Linked DNA regions of Homo sapiens: region 2 is linked to region 1. Evidence: promoter capture Hi-C in human tissues and cell types (Jung and others, 2019). All regions are on one chromosome and are shown on one strand. The core of a region is centred on a gene start or on the middle of the fragment in contact, and the rest is flanking DNA. Distances in the headings are between cores, read along the strand shown. Region 1 holds the start of SBF2 (SET binding factor 2). Region 2 holds the start of DENND2B (DENN domain containing 2B).

Region 1 (6,985 bases), core at 1,737-4,236:
TCAGGTCATGGTGGTGGAGTCCTTGTGAATGGGATTAGTTCCCTTTTTAAAGAGACCCCAGAGAGCTCATTTGACCCTTAAGCCATATGAGGTTAAAGTGAGAACATGGCTATGAGGAAGCATGTCCTCACCAGACACTGAATCTGTCAGAGTCTTCATCTTGGATTTCTCTGCCTCCAGACTGTGAAAAATAAATTTCTATTGTTTATAAGCCACCCAGTTTGAGGTATTTTTGTTATAACAGCCCGAATGGACTAAGGCAAATAGTAACAGAATATAATCCGCGAGCTCCCCTTTCTGGTCTCACTTCGGCTGGATGTGCTTAGACTCTCCTATTTCCCACTCAAGCCAGTGCTTCGGGCAGGTGGGCTAGTGACTTTTTCCGAATAGACTAAGGCAAATAGTAACAGAATATAATCCACTAAACACACACACACACACACACACACACACACACACACACACAGACTCCATGTAGATGTCAATAAATGATTAAGAGTTTAGTGAGGAACAAGATATTTACATAGTTTCAAAGTACATGGCAAAAACAATTAAGTATTAACTTTACAGTGGAGAAGCCTCGCAGATATTACTTATATCAAGTAATCAAAGTAAAAATAACCAACAATGAAACAAAGTGAAATTGTGCACCACCTGACAGGATGCAGTGAGCATCACTTCTGTGATATCCTTCCCACGTGCATATTCGTATGTATCTAATCATGAAGGAACAGACAATCCCAAATTGAGGGGGCAGCCTACAAAGTGACTGACCTGTAATTGTTAAATATGTTAAGGTCATGAAAGTCAGGAGAAGATAAAGGAAATGTTCCAGATTGAGGGAGACAAAAGAGACATAACATGAATGCAACACATATTGCTAAACTGGATCCTTTTGCCAGTAAAGAGATTACTAGCACAATCAACAAAACTTGAACCAGTCTGAGAACTAGATGGAGTACTGTATCACTATCCATTTCCTGTTTTGGTTATTACACTGTGATCATGTAGGAGAACATTCTTGTTTGCAGAAAATGCACATTAAAGTATTCTGGGATGACAGGGCATCAGGTCAACAGCTTCCTCTCAAATTGTTGGGGGGCGGGTAGAATTTTTTGTACCATTCTTGCAACTTTTTTGCAAGTCTGTTATTGTTTCAACATTGTTGGCCGGGCGTGGTGGCTCAAGCCTGTAATCCCAGCACTTTGGGAGGCCGAGGCCGGTGGATCACGAGATCAGGAGTTCAAGACCAGCCTGGCCAGGATGGTGAAATCCCGTCTCTACTACAAATACAAAAATTAGCGGGCGTGTTGGCGGGCGCCTGTAAATCCCAGCTACTCCGGAGGCTGAGGCAGAGAATTGCTTCAACCCGGGAGACAGAGGTTGCAGTGAGCCAAGATCGCACCACTGCACTCCAGCGTGGGCAACAGAGCAAAACTCCGTCTCAAAAAAAAAAAAAAAAAAAATTGTTTAAAAGTGGGGAGGGGGGGAGGCGGAACAATGTCACTAAAAACTAAAGGTTAAAAAACTGATTTCCCACACTTAATCTTGATAGAAAAGAAACATCAGACTATGCCAAATTACTAGGAAATAAAATTTTGGATCCAGAAGTTTAAACATTTAAACTTTCTCTTTAACAATTGACCTCAATCAGGTCATGACTGGTGAAAGAGAAAAGAACATGAAAGGTTCCCACTAAAGGAGAGGAAGTTCTTAGGAGAGGAATAATGAAAGAGAGAGTGGACCAAGAGTGGGTAGAACAATGGTATTCTGAGCTACCAATGGCTGTAACCATCAGGAAAACACAATCTCAGCATCTCTGAAAAATGAAGGGGCTGTAGAGCTGATATCTCAAATTCCTTGCAAATGTGGGACTAGAATTGCCCTAAAATAGAAGTGGTTTCCCAGCTCAATTTGTTATTACATTATGCTTAGCTACATAGTAATACAAGAGAATACAAATACAGAAATAAACGTGCATGAACCCTGAATTCTCTTAAGTTGTGGAAGTCCGTCAATTAAAGTGTAAAATACAATGCATTTGCCCAATTGTTCCTTACGACGAAAATTCTGTGACAAATAAAAAGAACAATGAAAACACATTAAAGTGAAACAAGATCACCTTCAGCGGTCAGCTGGCTGTCCTTAGTTAAAAGACAAGTCATGTCACTGTGAAGTGACCGTCACATTTGTCCTGAAAGAATAGGGAGCATTTCCTAGAAAGGGGTAAAAGTGCAAAGAATCCTGTCCCCTTCCCTGGTACCACGCGTTCCTTGGGGAGGTCACTAGGCCCCCAACAGCACAGGGGTGAGTTAGCACTGGACTCTCAGCACTTCCTTTCGGAGAGGACAACCCCCTGCGTCACTGGTTACTCACTCAGGATGCAGGGCAGAAGTTTATCCCCGAGGAACTTAGCACAGTTGGCTCCCGCCCTCCCAGCCTTGCGGTCCTGGGCCCAATCTCAGGGCTCTCTCTGCCCCGGGTACCCTGCAGCCTCCAGCGGGAGGGTCGCGAGACCCCAACTCGCCTCCGGCCCGCCCAGCGGGTGCGCCCAGGGGCTGGGCAGACGCGGCGTCTTCCCTCCCCCTACCGTCGTGCCGGCCCCCCCACGCCCACCGCCAGGCTCAGCCCAGCCGAGAAGGCCGGACGCCGACCGCCCGCTCCTCCGAGACTCGGCCTGGCCCTCCCCGACGCCCGTCCCCGACGCCCGGCCCCGCGGAGCCCACTGGACAGCGGCCGGGGGGCGGGGAGGCCCGGGGGCGGTGCCGCCCCACACCCTTACCTGGCTTCTCGTGGTCATAGCCTACCACGATGAAGTAGTCAGCCAGCCGGGCCATGGCCGCCGCCGCCGCGCTCGGGAAGCGGGTCCCCGTCGCCGCCCTCGCCGCCGCCGCCCACCCGGCCCGGGAGGGCTCAGCATTTTCCCTGCAGCGGCAGTAGCGGCAGCGGCAGCGCTTCAGCCATGTTTGACAACCGAGGCGCGCTCTGCGCTTGCGCGGCGCCTAGTGCCCGCTCCTCCCCCGCCCCCACCCGCGCTGGCTCGGCTGCCCCAAGCCCGGGCGGCGAGCCCACCTCCACCCTCCGCGGGCCTCGCGGACTGCTGCGCTGGGGGAGTGGGCGGTCGGGCGTGTTCCCGCCACGCGCCGCCACCGCGGCCCCTGGAGGTGGTTCACTTTGAGGCCTGGATGCTGCTTCACGGCCCCCTCTGCCTCCCTATTTTTCCTAAAGCAGGGGGTCCTTCCTTCCGCCTTCTCTATTCTGTTTGGATTTGGAAGAAGGGATGTGGAGAGTTGAGGGGTCACTTGGAAAGCTGGCTGCTTCCTCTGCTCCCCACCACCACCAAAGATGAAATTCTCCCGCCCTCGGTTGGAAGCAAGGAATTTGCATCGACAGGGCTTTTGCTGCACGTTTCCTGTTTATGTTGTGTAGATGGGAATTTTAGAAACATGCCACCGAGCAGACGGGGGAGGGAGAGGCTTTTACGCAATCCTCCAAGGAGCCTCGGGTTTCAATGCCGGGTGGGCCGGGGGCGGTCGGCCTGGGCTTCCCCCGGAGCGCCCGGGAGAGCCAGATTCCACCGAGGAACGCGGCATCCCCGGGATCCTCCCGAACTGGGCTGGCCTCTCCCTGGGGAGCCCCGCACGCCTCGGCTTGCTTCCCTCGCAGCGGTCCCAGGGCTCTCGCAGCCCGAGCAGGTGGACTTCCAACTTCCCTGCTCAAACATGCACAAAAATGAATAGATGGTCCCGTCCTTCCGTCTCGGGATTATCAAAGTCGCTTGCTTTTTTGTTGAACCTCCTATTGACCATTTCGAATTTGGCTGGTGTGACATTCAGGTGAACTCACTTTGTCATTTGTTAATATCTCACGAAGTTTTAGTAGAATTTGTACAAGTGGTAGACCAAAGTTTTGGAAATCTCCGTGGTTTAGAAGTTGTCTTTGTGGTTGCTTATCACTGCTCACTATTAATTGAGGGTTTGATCCTTCATATTTACACATAAGACAAGGCCTCTTAGCAAAGCGTCTAGTATATAGTAGGTGCCTACAAAATATTTTAAATGAGTAAATGTGCGATTTTCCCCAACGACCAGCAGGAAGCCGCAATGGCTCCAACTCTGAACTGAGAGAGTTGACATCTCAGCTCCTGAAGATTTACTCTGCTGTAATTTACTATTTCCCCTTTCTCTGCCACACTTGTTTCATCTACAAATTGGGAGGGTTGGGCTGCACTAGAACTGAAACTGAAGGAATACTTTAACTCCAGGACCTCTATGTCAGTTGCTAATGGTAAAACTGAATCAGCTGAATTTGCAAACGTGGAGGGAAGATAGTTTGATCCTGAAAATAATTAAACCAAAAAAAAAAAAACCTCAGTCATACCCCGTGCAGCAATCCTCTCTGTAACTTCCCTGAGAGCTCATCATCCAACTTGATCACTTTCAGTAAAAAGTAATCTTACTTCCTTGGGAGGCAGCGCATTCCACTGTTTAACAGCCCTATTGTTAGAAAGTTCTTCCTTATTATTTCAGAGTTGTCTTACTGTAACTTCCCCTGATTCTGCTCTCCGGAACTATCCAGAAAAAAAAAATCTATCTTCATATGATAGATTTTTAAGGCAGCTATCATATTCCTTCCCAACTTTTCTAAAAATAGGGCAAAATTCACATATTGTAAAATTAGCCACTTGAAAATGTAGAATTCAGTGGCAATTAAGTACATTCCCAATGCTGTACAACTACCATGTCTATCTAGTTACAAAACATTTTCATCACCCAAAAGAAAACCTCACAACCATTAAGCAGTCATTCTCATTCTCCCCTCCCACAGCCCCTGGCAATCACCATTTTGCTTTCTGTCTCTATGGATTTACCTATTATGAATATTTCATATTCATATCATACAATATGTGGGTTTTTTGTGTCTTGGTTTTTCTCACTTAGTATATTGTTCTCAGCTTGTTTACGGGCAGATACAGTACAAGGTTGTAGCATCACATTGAAGTATCAATACTTCATTATTTTTTATGACTCAATAATATTCCATTGTATATTGTGTTAGACTGTTCTCACGGTGCTAATAAAGACATACCCGAGACTAGGTAATTTATAAAGAGAAGAGGTTTAATTGACTCACAGTTCCACATGGCGGAAGGCAAGGAGAGCAAAGCGGCAGACAAGAGAGCTTATGCAGAACTCTCCTTTATACCATCAAATCTCATAAAACTTATTCACTATCACCACAACAGCAGGAGAAAGACCCGCCCCCATGATTCAATTACCTTCCACCGGATCCCTCCCATGACAGGTGGGAATTATGGGGTACAATTCAAGATGAAATTTGGGTGAGGACACAGCCAAACCATATCATATGTATATACCATATTTTGTTTATCTGGAACAACCCATATGGACATATGGGTTGTTTCCACCTTTTGGCATTGTGAATAGTGCTGCTTCAAACATGCATGTACATGTATTTGAGTACCTGTTTTCAATTTTGGGGATATATTCTTGGGATTGGAATTACTGGATTAAGTAGTTCTGTTACTACTGTTTTCCACAGTGGCTGCATCATTTTACATTTTCACCAGCAATGCACTAGGGTTCTGATTTCTCTGCATCTTTGTCAACTCTTGTTTTCCTGTTGTTTATGTTTTGTTATAGCTATCTTAGTGTGAAGTGATATCTCATTGTGGTCCTGTTTTGCCTTTCCCTAAAGACTAATGATGTTGAGGATCTTTTCATGTGTTTATTGGCCATTGCTAAATCTTCTTTGGAGAAATGTCTATTCAAGTCCTTTGCCCATTTTTTAATTGATTCTTTGTCTTTTTGAGGTTGAGTTGTAAGAGTTCTTTATATATTCTGGATACTAGTCCTTGTCAGATATATGATTTGCAGATATTTTCCCATTCTGTACGTTGTCTTTTCATTTTCTTTTTAAAATTGTTATGCCCTATTCCCCCCCCCAAATATTTCCTATTTTTATTTTATTTTTCATTTTATTTTTATGTAGAGATGTTGTATCATGATGTTGCCCAGGCTGGTCTTAACCTCCTGTCCTCAGGCAATCCTCCCACCTAGCCCTCCCAAGGTACTAGGATTAGAGGCATGAGCTTCCACACCCAGACTTCATTTTCTTGATAATGTCCTTTGGCTCAAAAAAGTTTTTAATTTTGATAAAGTCCACTTTTTTAGTTTGTTTCTATGCTTTTAGTGTTATATCTAAAAAATTATTGCCATATTAAAGGTGAGATGAAGATTTACTGGTTTCCTTCATAGTTTTAGCTCTTTAGTACTTTGACCCATTTTGAGTTAATTTTGTAGTGGTAAGGGGTCTTGTTTTACCTTTTAAATGTCTTGGCTTTTATTTCATTTGCAAGTACTCATTTAAATTATTTTAATTTTTTAAAATCAAAGTTTATTGTTTTTAAGCCTAGAATCAAATGCTATTCTGCTTTTAGGCATATTTCATCTGTTACTGTCATAAGTAGACTTCCAGTCCATTTGCAAATGCCCATTTTGTCACACAGAGATTTTAACATATCCTAGGTACATGTAGAAAGGCACTGTGTGTTTGTATATACATGTGAACATATTTTGTATACACTAAAGCTGTGCTTTGCTTCTCAGCCAACAGCTGCCAGCCTGTTGAAACTGATAAGCCCTGACAAGGCAGCCTGATTACTGAGGTTGGCTGAAAGCCAGACCATCCCCTACAATAACCACCATCACCTTTCACCAAAGAGAGAGAGAGTAAAGCAAGCCCAGATTTGTTTTCCTGAAGGCTGATGGGAGCAGGAAGGGAAGAAGGGTATGTAACACTATCATGATGTGTATGTGGCAGATACCTTTCTTTTTTGCTTTAGAAGACGAAATAGATGGAATGCGGTGGCTCACACCTGTAATCCCAGCACTTTGGGAGGCCGAGGCAGGTGGATCACCTAAGGTCAGGAGTTCAAGACCAGCCTGACCAACATGGTGAAACC
Region 2 (6,985 bases), core at 2,896-5,395, 1.5 Mb before region 1:
TGATAGTTTCAACACCCTCCCCAACAACAGTACATTCATGACATCAGAGCCAAAAAAATAAGAGAAGGGGTCTTTGGAGAAATTCTTCAATAAGGTAATCTAGACTCATTTAACACCCTCCTCTCCCTTCAAAACACACACACACACACACACACACACACACACACCCAGGAGAGCTTTCTGGGGCCTATGGCTAGAAATAGAGAGCTCAGGTGTTTCTATCAGCACAATATTACGTGGCATATTCCTCTAAGACAGATGCACCCAGTAGTTCCTCCGACCCACCTACTGAGACAGACACACATAGCACCTCCCCTCCAGGATGAAACAAATGCCTAGCCTCCCCAGCCCCTGCCTCCCCAGGAGAAGGCACACACTAATGCAAGTTTTCCCATAGGCTTTAAAGACAAATCTCTGCAGACTATGCCAGATGGTCTTTTTTTTTTTTCTTTTTCTTTTTTCGCTCTATGCCCTCCTGGCCCCTTCTCCACTTTCCATGGTCCCTCCAACTCAAAGAACTCAATTATCTGCCTGCAGATTTCCCCTTCCCCTCCTCGCAGCCTGCCCTAAACACACCCTCCTCCCAAGCCCATGCAGAGGCACAGAAGGAAGGCCAAGCCAGGGCTCGGAAGGGCTGCTGCCAGGCCTCCTCCAGCCTCAACTATGTGTTCCCCGGGCTTGGCTGCCTCGGCCGACTCTCTTAGGCCCAACGATGGAAATGGGGACGTTTCCAGGGCAATGACAGTTAACAGCTAAGAGGAGTGACAGGAAGGAAGATGTATTCTTCAATCCTTCAGTCCCAACTGCCCCACAGGGAGGTGCTTCAGAAGGCCCAGGCCTCAGAGCCTCCCATCTCCCTGAGGTGCCAGGTGGACCTCCCGTAATGCAGTTCTTAGAATCAGATGCGGTGGGGAGTGGGGCACAGCCTCTCTTAGGTCTAGGCTACCAGTGGGGCCATGATACTTGGATTGCCCTCCTGAATCTGTACACCCCGCCCTTCATTCCAGGGAAAGAGGCTGAACCAGCAGAACCAAGGGTGTCCTTGGCCTGTTCTCCAGTGTATTTCAAAGTTTCATCTTCCCGGGGTGACTGATATCTAATTTGAGAGAGAGAGAGCCCAAGGGGAGAAGGTACAGGAAGCGGAGTAGAAGGAGGAAAGAGGGAGTGAGAACAGGAATGTTACTTTTTAATCCTTAAGGAACATAGACAGATCCAATTTGTGACTCAGCTCTGGGAAGCCGGACTGATGGGAGTCGGGGAACAGCTGCAGCCCCAATCTAAGCTGTGGGCAGCTTCTCCTTCAGGCCTTAGAGGCTGTTGTGACATGACTCAACTAGAAGGGGAGCTGCTTGTTTTGTTTCATTTTTTTAATCTGCCTACTATGGGTCTGCTCAAGGGCTTCTTCCCAGACACCACTCCGGGATATGGCTGGCAGGTCTTCCCCATCCTACAGTAAAGCTGGGGCTGTGGGTGACGCGCTCTAGTATGCCATACGCCCTTTCGACTCAATGAGGACAGACCTGGGACTCTCCTTGCCTGGAGTCTCCCTTCCCCTGCTCTTCCATTCCTTGGCACAGTCCCATGGCATATCAAGAATCTCTGCCCTTGGAATTCCCACTTCCTTGTTTCTTTTTCTTTCCCCATAAGCTGTGGCCTTATGAGTTCCTGAAAGACCTGCCCAGCCCCCAAGAAGCCTTTCGGAGCAATAACACTTTCTCCCAGTTAGAACCCTGCCTTCTAAACCCAGAATGAAGGAGAAAGACCCCTTTGCCCACTGCAGAGTGTGCCCAGCAGGACCCAGCAGGATGAGGGAACCAGGCCTGGCCTCTTTTCCAGCTGCTAAAGTTTATGGTGCCACAACTCTACAGGCAGCTGTGGGACACAGGAAAAGCGACGGGTCTTTTGGAATACCTCTCCTCTATACTATATATAAACACATGAGTCAGGTGACCAAGGAAAGCTTCCTCCCTGCAGGATCGTCTATGAGGCTCCAGTTTTATGGCAAACATCACTCTTATGAAACGACCCAACCCAAGGAAAGCAACATTTGTTTCCTTAAACATCCTGAAGAAGTCTTTTCAGATTTTTCTCATGTTTACTTATAAATGCAGAAAGGAAGAAGGCACTTTATAAAATGAGAGAACCAGAACAGAGAGGCAAAGTGACTTTCCAGAGAGAGTTGGGTCATTCCTCAAGCTTCAATTCACAACACGGTTCGTTAGATAGGACGTGACTTGTTTCAAACTACTTTCATGGAAGTTATCCCACTGGCTCCTCCCAACAGTCCTGTGAAGTTGTTCTTATTACCTCCATCTCACAGGTAAGAATCTGAAGCTCCTATTAGTTAAGATACTTGCCCGTGGCCGCCCTATGGGAACAGAATCTAGCCGTCGACTCAAGTCTAGCAACCCAAATCCATTATTCTTTCTGCTATACCAACAGAAGGAGCAGCAGCTCCTGAAACTGGGTCTCTGCTAGCCCTCTTCACAGATGTGGGGATGGTAAAATTGAAGAGCTCCAACTACACACACAAGTAGAAAAGAAGGCTGAGGTTCTGGATTTACACTGCCAACTGAAGGGGCCACTGGCTCAGTGTTATGCCACATCCCTCCAGCAAAATGTAGGTTTCAACTAAGCAAAGGATCCCTGGAGTGTATGTAGCAAGAGGAATAACTTCAGAAGTGGACCGTCTGAGGTCCAGGGCCATGGAGTTCACCCTTGTGGACCCTCAGGCCACAACCACGATGTATACATGTACTCATTTTAGGGAGCCGGAACTGGGGACATGGCCAGTGCTTGCATTGGCAAGCTGATCCGAAGTTAATCAGAATGCCCCCTCATTGTTTGCCAGAATACAAAAGACATTCTGTTCAGAAAGTTCAAGAAGAAAAACTGAAGAACCAGGACAGCAGCTGTTCCCTCATCCCACAGAGAAACCAAAGGCATTTGCAAAGTTCCCTGAGGCCAAGAAGTGAATTTAAGACATAACATGGCTCAAGTGGAAGCACAACCCCTGATGGGTCTCCGTTGCAGGAAGTGTTTGCTGCATTCATCCTCCTCATAATATTACTGACAACCCCACTACCCTATCACCTATAAAACTGCCTTTCTGGGAGGGTCTCCTTTCCAAGGCCACACAGCTCACCATGTACCACTCCTCTAGGTCAGAACAAGTTTTACCAAAACTTAGGACAATCAGTGTAGGAGTGCACAGCGTGGACACTGCGTGCCCTGAGATTTGGTCAAAATGTAACCAAAGGAATCCACCCGGCACAACTACAGTGCCTCATGTTCCCCAGCTCTTAGCAGCTGCTGCTGAGAGCTCACTCTGGGACATCTGGATGAGAAACCTGTTTGCAGGCCCCCCAACCCCAAGCCAGCCCCCTCCTCCACCTCTTAGGAAAGTCTGTGATCGACCTTTTGATGTGGGAGGACAGCTTGATTCTTACCAAGCTGCCTGGAAGAGAGAGAGTGCAAAACCCCAGCTCAGGCATCCCTGTGACAGTCCCTCTGTCCTAATAAATGCTCTAGAGGGACTTGGAACTCACCACAGGCTCCTGGCTGAGCTTAATTAGCCTTTTTTTTTTTTTTTTTTCCATTACAGGTCAGACATAGCAGCACCAAGAGACAAAACAGACAGTGTTCACTAGGACGAACAAGCGGCTCAAAAGGCACTGGAGTTTCCCTGTAAGAACTACAAACACCACGGGAGTGATGTTAACTCAGATTTTTCCATATAAAAGATTCTTCCTGTAAAAATATCCTGTGCCTTTGTGCTAAATAAAAGTAAAATGATGCTTTTTAGAGTGAAGTCTAAACACCTCAGATTCAGCAAGAGTGAGATCAGCTAGATTTGCAAAGTCAAGAAAATTGGCTGTTTCCCTCCTCCTTAAGCTAATAGAATCCAACTGTTGGAGCATGACATCATTCCTGAGCCCCAAACCCCGAGCAGAGACTACAGACACTCGCCTGACTCCCAGAAAACAGCCGGAGAGAAGGGCCAGGAAAGGAGGCCAAATGATCCCAGCCCGGAGCTGCCCTTACCTGAAAGTCCCGCTGCTTTCCTGCCCACTCCATTCTCACACCGCAGCCGGCTAGGGAGCCCAGGGCCCCCAAATCCACTGGCTTAAGCTCCGATACCTGCTGCGAGCTTCCCACAGCTCCTTCCTCTGACCTTTCGTGGCGCTCCTCGCAGCCAAGTGAGCAGAGCACTGCTAGCCGGCCAGGCCGGTTGTCATGGAGACCCTGTCCTCGCTAGGCGGGCGCGCGCACAGCGGCGCGCTCTTGGCCTAGCGCGTGCACAAGGGCGCTCTCTTTTTCTTTCTTTCTCACTGTCTCTCTCTCTCTCTCTCTCTCTCTCTCTCTCTCAGTTCTGGGAGGCTTCCATGAAACAGCACTGTCTTTTGATCAGCTCGGTTTTTGCATGCATTCCACTCCTCCTACCTCCCTTCCAGTCCAACAGGGGCTCTGAACTGCTCCTGGGAACTTGCTTGAACAGCTCAGAGGGGAGAAGGGAGAAGACAGTGAGTGGACTTGTTTTCTTCCCCTCCAGTGTCTCATTTTTTATAACTTGGAAGAATCCCTGCCAGGGGGGAGGGAGCTAGCTGAAGCGCTTGAAGGGGACCCAGCTTCCTCTGGGTCCTGGAGCTCGGGTAGGAGGGACCCTGATGCGCTGCCTTGACTTGTTTGTGCACTTGGGATTTTTCCGGGCAGCAGTTGGGGCGGAAATGCACTCACATCCCAGGAGCTCGCCTGGACTGGCCTCTCTGCTTACCTTGCTGCCTGTCCAGGTTGTGGCGATGGCTTTAACCAGTGCAGGGACTCATGGTACTAGTGGTGGCGCCTAAGCAGTCTCTCATCTTCCTGAAATGGAGAGCAAAGACAACTCGGTCAGGACCAGGAAGAATCCTGGGCAAGTCGAGAGTCACAACCCAGACGACAAACCTGATACAAATACAGCCTTGTCTCTCTGCCCTGCTAAGGATCTGCAGCTAAGGTGCAGGCTTAGTGGGAGCTGCTGTCACAGTCGGTAATAATATTGCTCCTGTCAGAAAATGAGCACAGTCCCTGGGACACGGCAGACCCCCTAAGTTTAGTCCCATCCCCATCCCCATCCTGTCCCTTCCTCTCCCCCCTACCCAGCATACATTTCTGCTTTGTAACATTCTTTTTACATGTATCATTTTGTTTGATCCTCATAACCTTTTGAAATACACTGCACAGATATTTTTATGACCATTTTTTCAAGTTTATTTATTATTCTTCTTAAATTTCTTTTAGAGACAGGATCTTGCTCCATTGCCCAAGCTGGAATGCATTGGTGCAATCATAGCTCACTACATCATCAAACTCCTGGGCTCAAACAACCCTCCTGCCTCAGCCTCTGAAGTAGCTGGGACTACAGGCATGCACCACCACGCCTGGCTACTTTTTTAATTTTTATTTTTATAGAGACAGGGTCTCACTATGTTGCCCAGGCTGGTTTTGAACTCCTGGCTTCACGCAATCCTCCTGCCTCAGCCTCTCAAAGTGCTGGGATTACAGGCGTGAGCCAGCATACTGGCCTTATGACCATTTTATAGATGGAAAAACTGAGACTCAGAGAGATTAAACATTTGATCTGCACTTATACAGTTAGGCAGTCAAAGAACTAAGAGATCAGCCAAGTTCGCCCTAGTCCAGCACACTTTCAACTAAAGTATATTGCCACCTGATTTCAAAAACTGTCAACTTTTTGATAACTGGTTATGAGATAACGCTGGGCTCCCAAGGGAAGGTGGAGAATCCTTGTAAGTTGTGGCGAGATAGGCTGACTACCATCCTTTCAGCCTAAAGACCTTAAGACAGCATCTCTAAGATGTAAAACGTCCTGATGCACAGCTCGGAGAAAAAGCCCTACCCTACAGCTATATGTGACCTTGCACTTTTCTAAACGACTCTCAAAATCTTGGCTCGTCTGTTCAACATGACAGGTCTGAAAGTTAGGATTGGCATTATTATACTAATTTAACAGATTTTTTTTTTTTAATTCTACAACAGAAGTAAAATTACTTGCCCCAGGTCATGGAACCAGGAAATAAAATCTAGAAACAATCCCCAAGCCTTTCAAGTCTCTTGAGTACATTAAGCACAGTGGTTGCAACAGCACCAGGGGTCAGAAGACCTTGGCAGTGCCTGACTCCACCACTAACGGGCCATGTGCCATTGGGCAAGTCCCATGACTTCCCCCTTTCCACCTACAGAGCCTACTGACAGGGCTGGGACTGAGCATCGGAAGAGATGCTGTCCGTGAAAGCACTCTCAAGTCAGGAACTGAACTAAGAACTTTACTCCTCTTGACAACTCCTCACCAAAAACAAACAAAAAACACTGGGACAGTTAATACCCTCCCCAGGATGAGGACACTGAGGCTTAAGGAGGATATTTTCCAATGCTGCTCCCAAAAACAGTGCTCCCAAAAAAAAGGTCCTGATGTTATTTATTTATTTATTTATTGACACGAGGTCTTATTATGTTGCCCAGGCTGGTCTTGAACTCCTGAGCTCAAGCAATCCTCCCACCTCAGACTCCTGAGTAGCTGGGATTATAGGTGTGTACTACCACACCCAGCCTGATAGAATCTTTAATGCAACATCCTATGCAGAATCTAGTGGGTTTTTTTCATTAATTTCCAGCATATCACAACATTCTCAAAACAAGATTCTGATTGACTTGAGTTTAAAAGGTAAATATATACCAGAAGTTAAGGTAGGAAAGTGTTATAAAATCCAACAGGAAATGACAGAATGGCACAAATCCTAAATGGGGGGCACTACTGCTTTAGTGAAGCAATCAGAGCTTGAAAGGGAGTGAACCTAATCACCCACTATAAATCCCCAACCCCACCCAAGCCCCAGCTGAAGAATCCCAAGTCTACAAAGAAAGACAAAGAAAGACAAGACAGAAGGGCAAATGCAGTATCATCAAATCACTAAATTTCCGCCTC

What was found. The method cuts DNA at HindIII sites, captures the fragments that hold promoters and counts their contacts. A contact is called where the count stands out against the background at its distance.
Region 2: a fragment that was not itself captured here is called in contact with the fragment with the promoter of SBF2 in region 1 in 1 of the 25 tissues and cell types used here (hippocampus).

What each region holds. Positions count from the first base shown.
Region 1 is chr11:10,291,233-10,298,217 of GRCh38, forward strand. It overlaps SBF2 (SET binding factor 2), which reads right to left and starts at 2,987. Exons shown (of 40, transcript NM_030962.4): 1 at 2,783-2,987. The coding sequence starts at 2,837. RefSeq lists silencers at 2,385-2,524, 2,565-2,644, 2,675-2,954, 3,075-3,124. The HindIII fragment of the contact is 12,564 bases long and covers 1-6,985 here.
Region 2 is chr11:8,806,473-8,813,457 of GRCh38, forward strand. It overlaps DENND2B (DENN domain containing 2B), which reads right to left and starts at 4,202. Exons shown (of 20, transcript NM_213618.2): 1 at 4,045-4,202. It overlaps DENND2B-AS1 (DENND2B antisense RNA 1), which reads left to right. Exons shown (of 5, transcript NR_120590.1): 5 at 3,605-3,804. RefSeq lists an enhancer at 1-125. The HindIII fragment of the contact is 4,134 bases long and covers 2,079-6,212 here.